4 separate regions of the Homo sapiens genome follow, and all the other regions are linked to region 2. Evidence: promoter capture Hi-C in 16 types of primary human blood cells and fetal thymus (Javierre and others, 2016). All regions are on one chromosome and are shown on one strand. Each heading gives the region's core, a stretch centred on a gene start or on the middle of the fragment in contact. The rest is flanking DNA. Distances are from core to core; before and after follow the strand shown. Region 1 overlaps DYNC1I2 (dynein cytoplasmic 1 intermediate chain 2). Region 2 holds the start of ITGA6 (integrin subunit alpha 6). Region 3 overlaps SLC25A12 (solute carrier family 25 member 12). Region 4 overlaps DYNC1I2 (dynein cytoplasmic 1 intermediate chain 2).

Region 1 (3,047 bases), core at 409-2,908, 680 kb before region 2:
GTGAGTCAAAACTTCAATTTTAGTAGAGTCACACTTTCTTTATATAGAAAAATTCATGTACTCACTACTCATGTAGTTACTGTATCTTTACCTTCAGTTTGTAAAAATGACTAAAAGTAGGGAAAACAAGTGTTAAAACATAATGGATAAGAAAAGGTTGGAAATCATATGGCAAATCACATGTTCCTCAGCCTCAAGGTGTGTTTAGTTGTGAAAGAAAGAATAAAATTGTTTAAATATTTCACTTTTTGGGAATGACTTCTCCCCTACTCCCCCAGAAAATGCGATGTATACCTTTGCCCATTCAACTTTAGTCCATATTTTTAGGAACACACAAATTTACTTTAAGGAATTACCTTTAAAGTTGACTATATAATAGCAAAAGAGAAAGTATTGAGACTGTCAGTGTTGATAAAGCTTCTAGCAAGATTAGGTTGACTAGAAGTGCATCACAGTTCTTTATACTTTTAGAACTAAAAGCCTTATAATTTTGAAAAATATCCAGTTACAGAAATTGTACCTTATCAGTTATACTTTTTTTCTGAGTAAGAAAACAAGCTATAGCTTTCTGGTTAATTTCTTATTTTTCGTTGTTTGGTTTTTGTCTTTTTGAGTGGAACGTTAAAGTTTATTACCTTCATGTTAAGGAATATCCAGCTTCACAGACAATTAACTTGCAATAAATCTCTGAAATAATCATTTTTTGGTATTATTTAAACCAAATATGCATTGGTAGAAGCTTTCTTCCTGTTTACAGATCCAGCTCCCTATAAAGTTTAGAAAATCTCTTTGTATAAAATGTTGTTACAATAATGCTGAAATACTGCATCTCAAAGGAATGGATGACTTAAAATTTAGTGGGAGGAACTATAGGAAAGTCGTTTTAGGAATGATTGGTCCTAGTCTTTCAGTGTTGTTAAAATGTTTTAGTCTGTTCTGTACTAGTGTGGATAGACTAATATCCACCCCTTGAACCATACAGAAAGACTTGAATGGATGAGTGAAAATCTGCTGTGAAGCATATCATACTATCTTTGCTTTATATTGAGTAGTGCATTACTTTTAAGTCAGAAAGCCAGTAGGTTTTTTTGTTTGTTTGTTTTTCCCTAAAGCGCTGCCATAAATTTCAGTGGTCACCTGCCACTCACTGGGCGGTGTATTTTTAAATGTCTTTTCCACAACCCCAGTATTTCAACATTGACATTCTAATAGTTTTCTAAATGAGAAAGCTGTATAATTAAATGTATGCTAAAGAGAATGGAGCTCCAAATGCAGCTCCAGATGCTGCTTATCATCTAGGATGCTGGTGTCATGTCTTAGTCTTCAGGATAAGCCAAGGTTAAAAAGCCAACAGCTTTACTTCTTGATGACTTAGTAATGGGGTTCCCATTGAGTTTTGTTTTTAATCCAAGCTACACAGCAACAAGAAAGGAGATCTTGCTTTCCTTAGGCTACCATCTTGCTGATTGCTAGCCCAGCAGTCCCCAACCTTTTTGGCACCAGCCATCATCTGTTTGTTTCATGGCAGACAATTTTTCCACGGACCAGGGAGGTTGGGGAGATGGTTTCAGGATCAAACTGTTCCACCTCAGATCATCATCAGACATTATTAGATTCTCATAAGGAAGGAGCACACACAACCTAGATCCCTCACATGTGCAGTTCACATTATTAGGGTTTGCGCTCCTCTGAGAATCTAATACCGTCACTTGCTGATCTGACAGGACGGGGAGCTCAGGTGGTATTGCTCATTCGCCTGCCCGCCCGCCTGCCTGCCGCTCACCTTCTGTTATACAGCCTGCCATGGACCACTACTGGTTCTGGTTTGCGGCCCAGGGGTTGGGGCCCCCTGTGCTAGGCAACTTAGAGACCTTACAGGTTTGAGGAAAAGTCACTCCCAACTAGGAACTTATCATTTACTAATTAAAAATTATTGATGCTGTGAAATTATTTACTTAGAGATCTGGCTTACAAATCTAGGGGTTCCTAATGCTGTCAGAGAATTAGAAATTGCCCCAAAGGCAGTATTAAGAGAACAGCCATTTTCAGTATTTCTTTTGAAGGGGAAGATTACAATTAGGAACCTTCTTTTAACCAGTTTTTTCAAAAGTTTTACAGCCCCCAAATGGTAGTAATTTGCTTGTATTGTATTATATTTTGTAAATCCTTTTTCATAAATAGGAAACATGTTATGGAGTCCATCTTAGAGAAAAATCCTACACTGATAACCAGAATACCAACTATAAAACTTGGAATCCATCACACTGGAATGCTTTTCACAATAGGCCAGTTCTCTCATTCCTTTTGTTGGACTTTAGGTATTTAGATTGTCTTTCTGCCTGCCATGTTCACAATTCCCAAACTTCTAAAAGTTCAAATGGATAGCAGGAATTTAAGTTTTCAGTATGTAGCTTTTAGCCACTGATAGTTTCCACATAGCCAATCAGCAGTCTTTTACAAACTTTTATAAAATTATGGTATTTTGTGTTGTTAGTTTCATAGCAGGAATCCCAGTTTTGGCTTCTTAATATTCCATTACCAGTTCCCAGTCAGAGGATGGAACAGCTTGCACTCAGGTAAGCTTTCTGAAAGGTCTGTTTCACTTTGTGAGGTCGCTTATTCAGGTCTCTGGTAATGTATTATCTTGCCTCTCTTATAATGTACTTGATTTGGTCAGAAAGCTGTGGGGCGGTGATTGTATGGATGTAGAACACACCTGCGTTGGGCCGAACATGCAGAGATCTGACACTGTGACTCCTGAAATCAGGTATACCAGTGGTAAGACTTTGATAGCAAGTAATTTTATCTTTTGTGAATTTTTTTACTAGATTTTTTTTTTTCCTGAACAAGGTAATGGAAATGCATTGAAACAAAATTTCTTATATTTAAGAGTGGCTTGGTATATGAGGGAAACAACACTGGGTACAAAAGACCCAAGTTCTATTCCTGATTTCCCCCATTTCTAGTAGTGTAACCTAGGACAAGGTTAAGTATTATCATCTTTTAAATGAGGAAAATATTTGCTTTCTGTGACAATTATGTGAGAA
Region 2 (3,389 bases), core at 634-3,133:
TACACTCTGCAGTGAGGTTCATTATACTATGCCTATAATAGTCTGGACCCCATCTCTCTGGAATAGTACATATTTTACACGAAGGGAAAAGGCTAACTTGCAACTTATTTGCATGAAAAATCACGTTGCAAGTACTTCTTAGTTTACTAGATTGTCTCCAATAGTTTCTCAACCTTATCAAGATATATTTGTTAAAACTGTGTGCTCTCCAAAATCATCTACTGAATTTAAACCACTGCACCCCACTTTGGACTATAATTGACTGGAGTTACTGATTGGAAAGGAAGTGGTACACACCCCTAATATACTGACGGACTTACTCTGACAGCTGCTACCACCTGTGGGGACCCTTGATGATGTTCACGCAGCTTTTCTGAGTGGCACATGCTGTTCTCTTGAATACTCCTTGAGGTGAAGAAGAGGCCACCCCTACCCCTATGCACACACAGCTCCTGCTCTTTCCTGGGGCTGCACCCTGCTTGTATTTCCAATGCAGGGATGTCAGATTCCAAAGAGGGCTCCCCAAGGCATTCCAGAAGGCTTCAGGCCAGCACGTCCCAACCTTTTCATGCCATGGGACCCCTTTGGCAGGCTGCTGAAAACCATGGGGTTCTTCTCAGAATAAGGGTTTTAAATACATAAAAGAAACCACAAGAGGTTACAAAAAAAGCCAATAATATTGAAATGTAGCTAACAAAATGTTTTTAAAAATTTGTGCTAGAGCAATATATATGCTTCATTATTGACATATAATATCTGGCTGATTGTCTAATAACTACTGTTATTTGAGATACTTGCAACAACTGTGATGTGATGTAAAAACCTATGGTTTCTAGTGATTACTAAGTCATAAATACTTATCCTACTGCTACTGTAGTTTGTTGTCTACGTTCATAATGGCAAAACGTGCTAAATGTCAGAGGTTGGTGAAAATTAAGACGTAAATTTTTTCTCATCCAAGTTCACAGTACTCTTGAATTAATTACCTCTCCTCGGGTTAAGAACCCCTGCAGGATAAGGTTGCCCCTAGGGCCAACACCTCACTGGAGCCCCGCCTCATGTCCTGGAGGCAGGAGCCTTCATGCCACCTACACAGAACTCGGAGCTGTCTCTTGGCCCAGCAGTTCTCCCCACAACTAGTTCTGAAAGTCCGGGGCTAGGAAAGAACGGCATCGTCGCCTGAGCTCCTGGCGCCACTTTAAACAACCCATCCTTGACTTGCGTGACTTCTTCCACAAGCTCTCCTGGTCACCTGGGCAAAATCCTAGGTGATCTGGGGACAAGGCGGAACTTCGGTTTTCTGATCTGCAAAAAGAAACACCTACCTCATAGGACTGTTAGGATGAATTGAGGTAATGGCTGGGTTGTGTACATTATACAGCACTATCAAGGTGTGCGCTGTGATCATTTTTGAGGGTTGTTAGGTGTTTGAGGACCCAGAACAGTCTACACAGCTGTAGTCCCCAAGTGTTGGGCACGCCTTAAGCGCTCCATAAACACCTGTAGAAATGAATGAATGACGTATGCATCTGCACGTGGGCCCACATCTGCAAGAACAGGCTGCTCAGGCCATGAGGCCCGGTGCATCACCTGCACTTCTCTTTATAACGGGTAGTAAAGTCTCCCTCGCTCTGTGCTACTCGGCAACCACAATTCTGTCCACAGAGGGCGGCGCAGTGGGGCTGCTTCGCCGCGAGCTCGCCTCCGGGGCTCCCACGTCGTGGCTTCCGGGCAGGTACCGGGCAGCTGGAGACGCCAGAGCCGGCGGGTAAGGTGCGGGCGGTGCGCCGGGCCGCGGGCGCGCAAGGAGGGGCGAGAGGGTGGGGAGGGGCGGGGCCGGCGTCCTCGTCACTTGATAAAACGCCTGCGAGTCTCCAGAGAACAACGGGCTCATTCAGCGGTCGCGAGCTGCCCGCGAGGGGGAGCGGCCGGACGGAGAGCGCGACCCGTCCCGGGGGTGGGGCCGGGCGCAGCGGCGAGAGGAGGCGAAGGTGGCTGCGGTAGCAGCAGCGCGGCAGCCTCGGACCCAGCCCGGAGCGCAGGGCGGCCGCTGCAGGTCCCCGCTCCCCTCCCCGTGCGTCCGCCCATGGCCGCCGCCGGGCAGCTGTGCTTGCTCTACCTGTCGGCGGGGCTCCTGTCCCGGCTCGGCGCAGCCTTCAACTTGGACACTCGGGAGGACAACGTGATCCGGAAATATGGAGACCCCGGGAGCCTCTTCGGCTTCTCGCTGGCCATGCACTGGCAACTGCAGCCCGAGGACAAGCGGCTGTGAGTTCCCAGACCCTTCCCACCCCCACTGGGGCGCCGGCCTGCGCGCGAGTTGAGGCGAGGGCGCGCCCTGTTCCCGCCGGCCCCGGGGAGTAGTTGGCCCGTGGGTCGCGCCCGGGCCGGCCGAGGCGCACCCAGCGCCCAGCGCGCTCGGCTCCCCGCCCTGACCCGCCCCGCGCGGCGCCTCCCTCCATTCAGCTCGGGAAGGAGGAGAACCCGAGGGCTAGGCTGGGCCCCGGGAGAGTTTACTTTTTTTTCTGTTTTAAACAAAGTGCTTTCCGCCGGTTCTTCCCTCCGGGCGTGTTTGCTGGGACCCCGGCAGGTGGCACGCTTTGCTGAGCTTCACGTGTGTGTTTGGGGCTGGGGTGGCGTTCAGGGTCACCGCAGCGCTGCTGTGGGTTTGCAGGGAGCGTAGTTCCAGGATGGTCTAGGCCTTTCCCAAACTCACGGTGCACCCCGTCTCCCCCGCAGACTGGCGCGCCCCGCACAAGTTGGAAAGCCACTTTCCATGTGTCCTGCATGACTTTCTCAGCAAGGCGGGGGCGCTCCTTAGGAGATACTTTTACATGCCTTTGAAAAAAAAAAAAAAAAAGATGGGGGTGGGGGCGGGAATTAACCAAACACCTGTTCGCTGGACTAGATCAGCTGAGAAAACAAGTCTGAGTGATGTGCCCAGCCCCCAAAGTACTCGGCCGCACCCGAGACCCGCTCGGCTCCTGCGTTGGGCGGGCACAGCCAAGGGGTTAAAGCAAAATGTCCGATCTGAGCCTGGACTTTGCAAACAAGGTTTGTAAGGGACAACCCCCCACCGTAGCGGTAAACCTCCCAGGAGAAAGAGGAGACCGGCACTACTGGCCTCTCCTTTTATTTCTTAAACAGTGTTTGGTTCCCACATGATCGGCTATTTAAGCCGGAGAGGGTATTTTGGCGCTTAGTCGCCTTAATCGCTATGGGGTTGCATTCTTCATCTGTGCTACTGAAAAATAGGCTGTAGCAACAAAAGGTCTCCCCTCCCCACCCAGGCCTTGAGTTGAACTAAGGACCTTCCAGGACCAACAGACCGGAGAAAGCAAAGTGCAGCCACAGTGAAGAGATTTTGTGTTTAGGAGAGGCGAATGGGA
Region 3 (3,180 bases), core at 243-2,742, 620 kb before region 2:
ACTGTTAACTCTTCATTAAAAAAGAAATGTAGCCAAAGAGATTTCCTTCCTGAGAATGTGCTGGGGCATGCATACAGGCACACACACACCCACACAGCAGTCCACCTCTTCCAAAGCAACTCTGCAGAGGACTCAGGTATGTGCCACACTGACACATATCAAAGAGAATCTGGAGCAACCTCTCTCTCTCTCTGACCCCCGAGGCAGTGTCTCTGAATTAAATGTTGCCAAGGTCACTGACCTCATCACTTCAGGTTTCACAAGCAACTGAGGAAGTTTTAGCCAAGACTGTCAGCCAATTCAACTGGAAGTTATTAATGTTTCCAAGAACAAAATGGACTAAACAAGTCTGAAACGAACCATGTGTTATCAAATATGAAACAAATACCACAAATGAAATTAGTTGAGCTGCAAATAGATTTAAGAATTGGTCATGCTTACACTTTAAAGACAGAAACCTTTGTGCGCTAAGTAAATATCTGAGTCTCTTGGTTCAGAATTTCTGTCAATAGCTGAAATGTAGTTACCGTTATTATTGTTTGCCAATAATCATGTCATGCTTACACTTTAAAGACAGAAACCTTTGTGCGCTAAGTAAATATCTGAGTCTCTTGGTTCAGAATTTCTGTCAATAGCTGAAATGTAGTTACCGTTATTATTGTTTGCCATACCCTCTGGCCTCTAAAGAAGAAAAATTATTATTAAACAATGGCTTACTCAGTCCTATACCTAAGATATAAGGGCCCAATTAATCAGCCATCTCACACTTGTTTTAAAGTTCCAGTTAACATATATGAATGGTAACTCTATCCACTACTATATTTTCTGTACTCTATTTCTTAAAAGGCATAGGAATTAGAACTTTTAAAAAAGTCTGGAAGGTAATGCTTTAGGAGCATCAAAGAGATAGAGCTGATGAAAATGCCACCTCTTTTTTTGTTATTATACTTTAAGTTTTAGGGTACATGTGCACAATGTGCAGGTTTGATACATAGGTATACATGTGCCATGTTGGTTTGCTGCACCCATCAACTCATCATTTACATTAGGTATTTCTCCTACTGCTATCTCTCCCCCAACCCCCAACCCCCAACCCCATGACAGGCCCCAGTGTGTGATGCTCCCTGCCCTGTGTCCAGGTGTTCTCATTGTTCAATTCCCACCTATGAGTGAGAACATGTGGTGTTTGGTTTTCTGTCCTTGTGACAGTTTGCTGAGAATGATGGTTTGCAGCTTCATCCATGTCCCTGCAAAGGACAGGAACTCATCCTTTTTTATGGCTGCATATTATTCCATGGTGTATATGTGCCAAATTTTCTTAATCCAGTCTGTCACTGATGGGCATTTGGGTTGGTTCCAAGTCTTTGCTATTGTGAATAGTGCCACAATAAACATATGTGTGCATGTGTCTTTATAGTAGAATGATTTATAATCCTTTGGGTATATACTCAGTAATGGGATTGCTGGGTCAAATGGTATTTCTAGTTCTAGATCCTTGAGGAATTGCCACACTGTCTTCCACAATGGTTGAACTAATTCACACTCCCACCAACAGTGTAAAATGGTTCCTATTTCTCCACATCCTCTCCAGCATCTGTTGTTTCCTGACTTTTTAATGATCACCATTCTAACTGGCGGAAAATGCTACCTCTTTTCTACACTCAAAACCCGTTAGCTTTTACAATAAAATTTAAAACTTATTCCATATGATTATTGAGAAAACCTGCTTAGAATCCCTTGAGTTCAAGAGAAATGCCACTAAGATATCTATTATATCTGTGCAAAAAGGTCAACGGAATGTATTTGTCACAAGAAGCGCCTAACAGTAATACTTACACAGCCTCCAGCAAGAACTTCTGCTGGAAGTGGAACAGAGCCATCTCTTCTGGTAAATTTGTCCCGAACAAAATCATTAACCTAATTAGAAAGACAACATCAGTTAACCAAAATTCCCAACCATTTCTCTTCTGGCATACTGTTGCTTTTCCAAGTCAGCAAAATATTTGTCTTATGATAAAATTTAAAATTATCAAATGCTTACATGTAAAATTAAAGTTGTACAAATTCTGCGACAGTGTGCCAGTGTCAGCAGCATCAATTTTAGTTTTGTTTTTGAGACAGGGTCTCACTCTGTTGCTCAGGCTGGAGTGCAGTGGCATGATCATAGCTCACTACAGCCTCAAATTCCTGGACTCAAGCAATCCTCCCACATCAGCCTCCTGGCATAAATCACCACACTTGGCTAATTTTTAATTTTGTTGTTGTTGTTGTTGTTTTGGTAGAGCTGAGTTCTTACTATGCTTATGCTGGTTTAGAACTGGTCTCAAGTGATCCTCCCACCACCCAAAATGCTGAGATTATAGGCATGAGCTACCACGCCTAGCCTTGATTTTAGCTTTTTGGCTTAATGGTAATCTAAACAAATGACATAAATTCAGTTAGAGATAAACTTACAGTCAGTTTAATGGCCTTTTCTGGAGCAACCCCTATAAGTTGTGGTATCAGACCTAGGTAAAGGGACAGAATCATCAGCAATATAGCTGTACCAGACATGAATACACAAGCCCAGCAACAAAGAGTTTCCCCCATATTATTTACCCATCAAACATTGCAGAGTTTTCATTAAAATGGGAAAAAGATTATCCTTAAAACTCTGTATACATATGTAATAATTATTTACAAATGCAGTATAATGTCACGTTTTCTTGAGGCTATAAATCCTCTTCTTAAGCATGCTTACTTTAAAGCCTAGTTATCCAACACTTCCCAAAAAGTCCATGAAGAAGAAACGGAGCCATGCGTCTTCTCTATTCTGGGAACACTGCCAATAACAATGTAACCAAATTCCCTCCCTTATTACAACCAACAACATATAAACATACACAGATACTGTACACTTGGAAAAGCTCTGAAAAGCATGCTGTTAAGCATACCCAGATTTTGCTACCTACATAATGGCATACAGTGGCTTCGTTATTATAGAATACTAACTCCCATAATCTTCTCTTCAGAGAAACACAGCATTCAATATTCATTTATTTAAAAGGAAGCCAAAACTGCAAAGAAAAATGCAGTTTTAAGTATTGTTTAACGAGTATCTCCTATAAGCAAAAACATATGCCTGTTGTATTCTTATTGACTAATATATGTCAAGCTTAAGACATTTTAAAAGAATCCCCT
Region 4 (2,986 bases), core at 237-2,736, 720 kb before region 2:
CTCCCAAAGTGCTGGGGTAGCAGGCTTGAGCCACCGCACCCAGCCACATCTTTTTAACCTTAATATGTACGTTGTCTCCTTTGAGAGCACAGACTCACTTGGAAACATTAATTTTCAAGAGGGCTGAGTATATTCATTTTTATGTATATATACACACACACACACACACACACACACACACACACACACACACAGAGTAATAGAAAATGATGAATTCTACTAAATCATATCCAGCTTTCATAGAGGTAATTAATATTGTGATGGTGATATTGGCAGTGAAATAATGCATTTCTAAATATGTGACATTTAAAAAGAGTGCCCAGGTCTCAGAATGAAACCTAATGAACTCATATTGAGCAAACACGATGTTAATGTAAGAATAAAGACAATTAGAAGAAATATAATAGGAAAATACATGAAGACATGTGAGATGTGTGCATGCACCTGTACGTGCAACTTCAGTTGGCTAAGATGGTCTAAGATTAATACACTCAGGGAGTAGGAATAGATAAGACATTATAAAATATGCTGTCTAAACATGTTTGAATCACTCTAAGTGCCAAGAATTTCTTTTGGGACTGGTGGTAATTTATGAATAAATATAAAAGGTCGTGAGAAATAATCTCTCTCTAACTTTGCAGATTAGGAAGCTGCATTACATTTGTTATCTCAAAAATTTAGGAACAATTATTCAGTGGGGTAATCCAGGCCTCTTGTTCCTTTTTTCCTTTTTTTTTTTTTTCTTTTTTGAGTCAGAGTCTTGCTCTGTTGTCCGGGCTGGGGTGCAATGGCGTGATCTCGGCTCACTTCAATCTCTGCCTCCTGGGTTCAAGCAACTCTCCTGCCTCAGTCTCCCCAGTAGCTGGGATTGCAGGTGTGTGTCACCATACCCAGCTACTTTTTTTTTTTTTAATGCTTTTAAGTTCTAGGGTACATGTGCACAATGTGCAGGTTTGTTACATATGTATACTTGTGCCATGTTGGTGTGCTGCACTCATTAACTCATCATTTACATTAGGTATGTCTCCTAATGCTATCCCTCCCCCCTCCCCTCACCCCACGACAGGCCCCGGTATGTGATGTTCTCCTTCCTATGTCCAAGTGTTCTCATTGTTCAATTCCCACCTGTGAGTGAGAACATGCGGTGTTTGGTTTTTTGTCCTTGTGATAGTTTGCTGAGAATGATGGTTTCCAGCTACTTTTTGATTTTTAGTAGAGATGGGGTTTCATCGCGTTGGCCAGGCTGGTCTCGAACTCCTGACCTCAAGTGATCTGCCCACCTCGGCCTCCCAAAGTGCCAGGATGACCGGTGTGAGCCACCGTGCCTGGCCCATTTTTCCATTTTTGATCAGTTTACTTCTCAAGCTTTGTACTTGGAATTGTACTCTATGTGCCTGAAGATGCCCCTAATAAATGTAATAATGTACAGGTATGTCCAGTGCATTTTCAGTACTGGCTGTATTTTGAGGTACAGTGTTACTTGATTTTAGACTAAAATGACATCCTCAACAAGGAATTTTATGTCATTGATAACAGAGCTCTTACATAATGTAAATGACAGAACATTCCTTGGAGACCATCTCATAGAACTTTTGATTTAACAAAGCCTAAGCTTGTTGCTATTCATTGCTTAGTACAAAGTAGATCTTCACTGTGGCTGCTTCTTACATTGCATACACATAACCTTGTTTAAATTCCAAGATCTTTCTTTATATTTTTTAAATGAAGGATTTCTCTAGATTAATTCATTACTATTTTTCTTGATAAATTATATAGGCAGGTAGAGAAACCATTTGTTGTATTAAAACATTGTAGCAACTAAAACTAGTTATAAATTATAATGTCTTACATAAGTGAAAAATATATTTGACAAAAATGGTAATACTAAATGTATTGTGCTTAACTTTATTTAGTGGGGACTATGAGCATTATACAGTACCATACATAATTATCTTATATATTGCTAACCTATATAAATGCCAGTATGATAAAGCACCTTTTGTTCTATTAGTAACTAAGTTTGGCTTAAGTGGAAAAGATCCTCTGTAAGTTACTTAGCCAGCAGGCGATGCTAAAACTTATAACTCAATATTTAGGATTGACATTTGAACATAAAATATTTTTCCAGGGAAAAATCTATTTTTTTCCTAGAGACAGAAATCTTTAGTTGTTTTCTTTAAGCAGATGATACGTAAGCCCAAGGCGGTGCTTAACCCATAAATTACAGAAGGGTCACATTTTGGAAACTTTAGCTATTTTGTATCCCAGTGGGATAGTCTTTGGTTTTATTACCAAAAGGCTTATGTGTTGACTCATTTCCTTTACCAGTATGACAATTTCCTGCACACATGTAATGCTTTGGGGAAGATTAGAATATGTTAACCAAGATGTTTTAATGTGTTTGTTTTCATTAGGAATCTTAAAATTTCAACCATTTTATAGCCTAGCTTGTTATCCATAAATAATTAACTTGGGTTGTCTGACTTTAGTTGTTCTAAAGCAGATCTATTATTATACAATATTAGTTTCCCATAATCTGCAAATAATGTCTTTTAACTATTCTGGGTTGTATGCTTGCATCTTTAACCATAGGAAGCCTATTGCATGCACTAGATGATTGAGTGACCTGGTGGATTTCTTGTTTTGTTTTCGATTTTTTTTTTTTAATACTAACCAGAACATGTGTTTTTTAATTGTGAATAGTACTTTAGCTTTAGCTATTCATAGAATGTATTTGCTTGACTAACTTATGGCCTTTTTTGCTAATGCTTCATGGTTGTCCTACAACCATTTAGGACGCTGCATTGGGATACAGATCCATCAGTTCTTCAGCTTCACTCAGATTCCGATTTGGGGTATTGAATAGATTTTTTACCTTCCCTGTTTTATAATGAATTTGATTCTTTGTGAAACTGTCCTAATTTTATTTTGCTTAAGTTTATAATATTGTATCACGTAGTAAGGACAAGAGTTATATTTTACTGTG

The links. The method cuts DNA at HindIII sites, captures the fragments that hold promoters and counts their contacts. A CHiCAGO score of 5 or more calls a contact.
Region 1: a fragment that was not itself captured here is called in contact with the fragment with the promoter of ITGA6 in region 2 in 1 of 17 cell types (naive CD4 T cells); the score reaches 5.5 in naive CD4 T cells.
Region 3: a contact is called between a fragment that was not itself captured here and the fragment with the promoter of ITGA6 in region 2, in 1 of 17 cell types (non-activated CD4 T cells). The highest score is 5.3, in non-activated CD4 T cells.
Region 4: a fragment that was not itself captured here is called in contact with the fragment with the promoter of ITGA6 in region 2 in 5 of 17 cell types (total CD8 T cells, activated CD4 T cells, naive CD8 T cells and 2 more); the score reaches 8.1 in total CD8 T cells.

What each region holds. Positions count from the first base shown.
Region 1 is chr2:171,749,460-171,752,506 of GRCh38, forward strand. DYNC1I2 (dynein cytoplasmic 1 intermediate chain 2) reads left to right here. Exons shown (of 18, transcript NM_001378.3): 18 at 1-699. Among named protein-coding and RNA genes, the nearest start is that of DYNC1I2, 64 kb to the left of the region's middle. The HindIII fragment of the contact is 1,842 bases long and covers 738-2,579 here.
Region 2 is chr2:172,425,703-172,429,091 of GRCh38, forward strand. It overlaps ITGA6 (integrin subunit alpha 6), which reads left to right and starts at 1,884. Exons shown (of 26, transcript NM_000210.4): 1 at 1,884-2,268. The coding sequence starts at 2,087. RefSeq lists a silencer at 1,832-1,911 and an enhancer at 2,696-3,196. The HindIII fragment of the contact is 11,901 bases long and covers 1-3,389 here.
Region 3 is chr2:171,807,770-171,810,949 of GRCh38, forward strand. SLC25A12 (solute carrier family 25 member 12) reads right to left here. Exons shown (of 18, transcript NM_003705.5): 12 at 2,455-2,507; 13 at 1,837-1,917. Among named protein-coding and RNA genes, the nearest start is that of SLC25A12, 85 kb to the right of the region's middle. The HindIII fragment of the contact is 3,320 bases long and covers 1-3,152 here.
Region 4 is chr2:171,709,972-171,712,957 of GRCh38, forward strand. DYNC1I2 (dynein cytoplasmic 1 intermediate chain 2) reads left to right here. Exons shown (of 18, transcript NM_001378.3): 6 at 2,796-2,855. Among named protein-coding and RNA genes, the nearest start is that of DYNC1I2, 24 kb to the left of the region's middle. The HindIII fragment of the contact is 247 bases long and covers 1,364-1,610 here.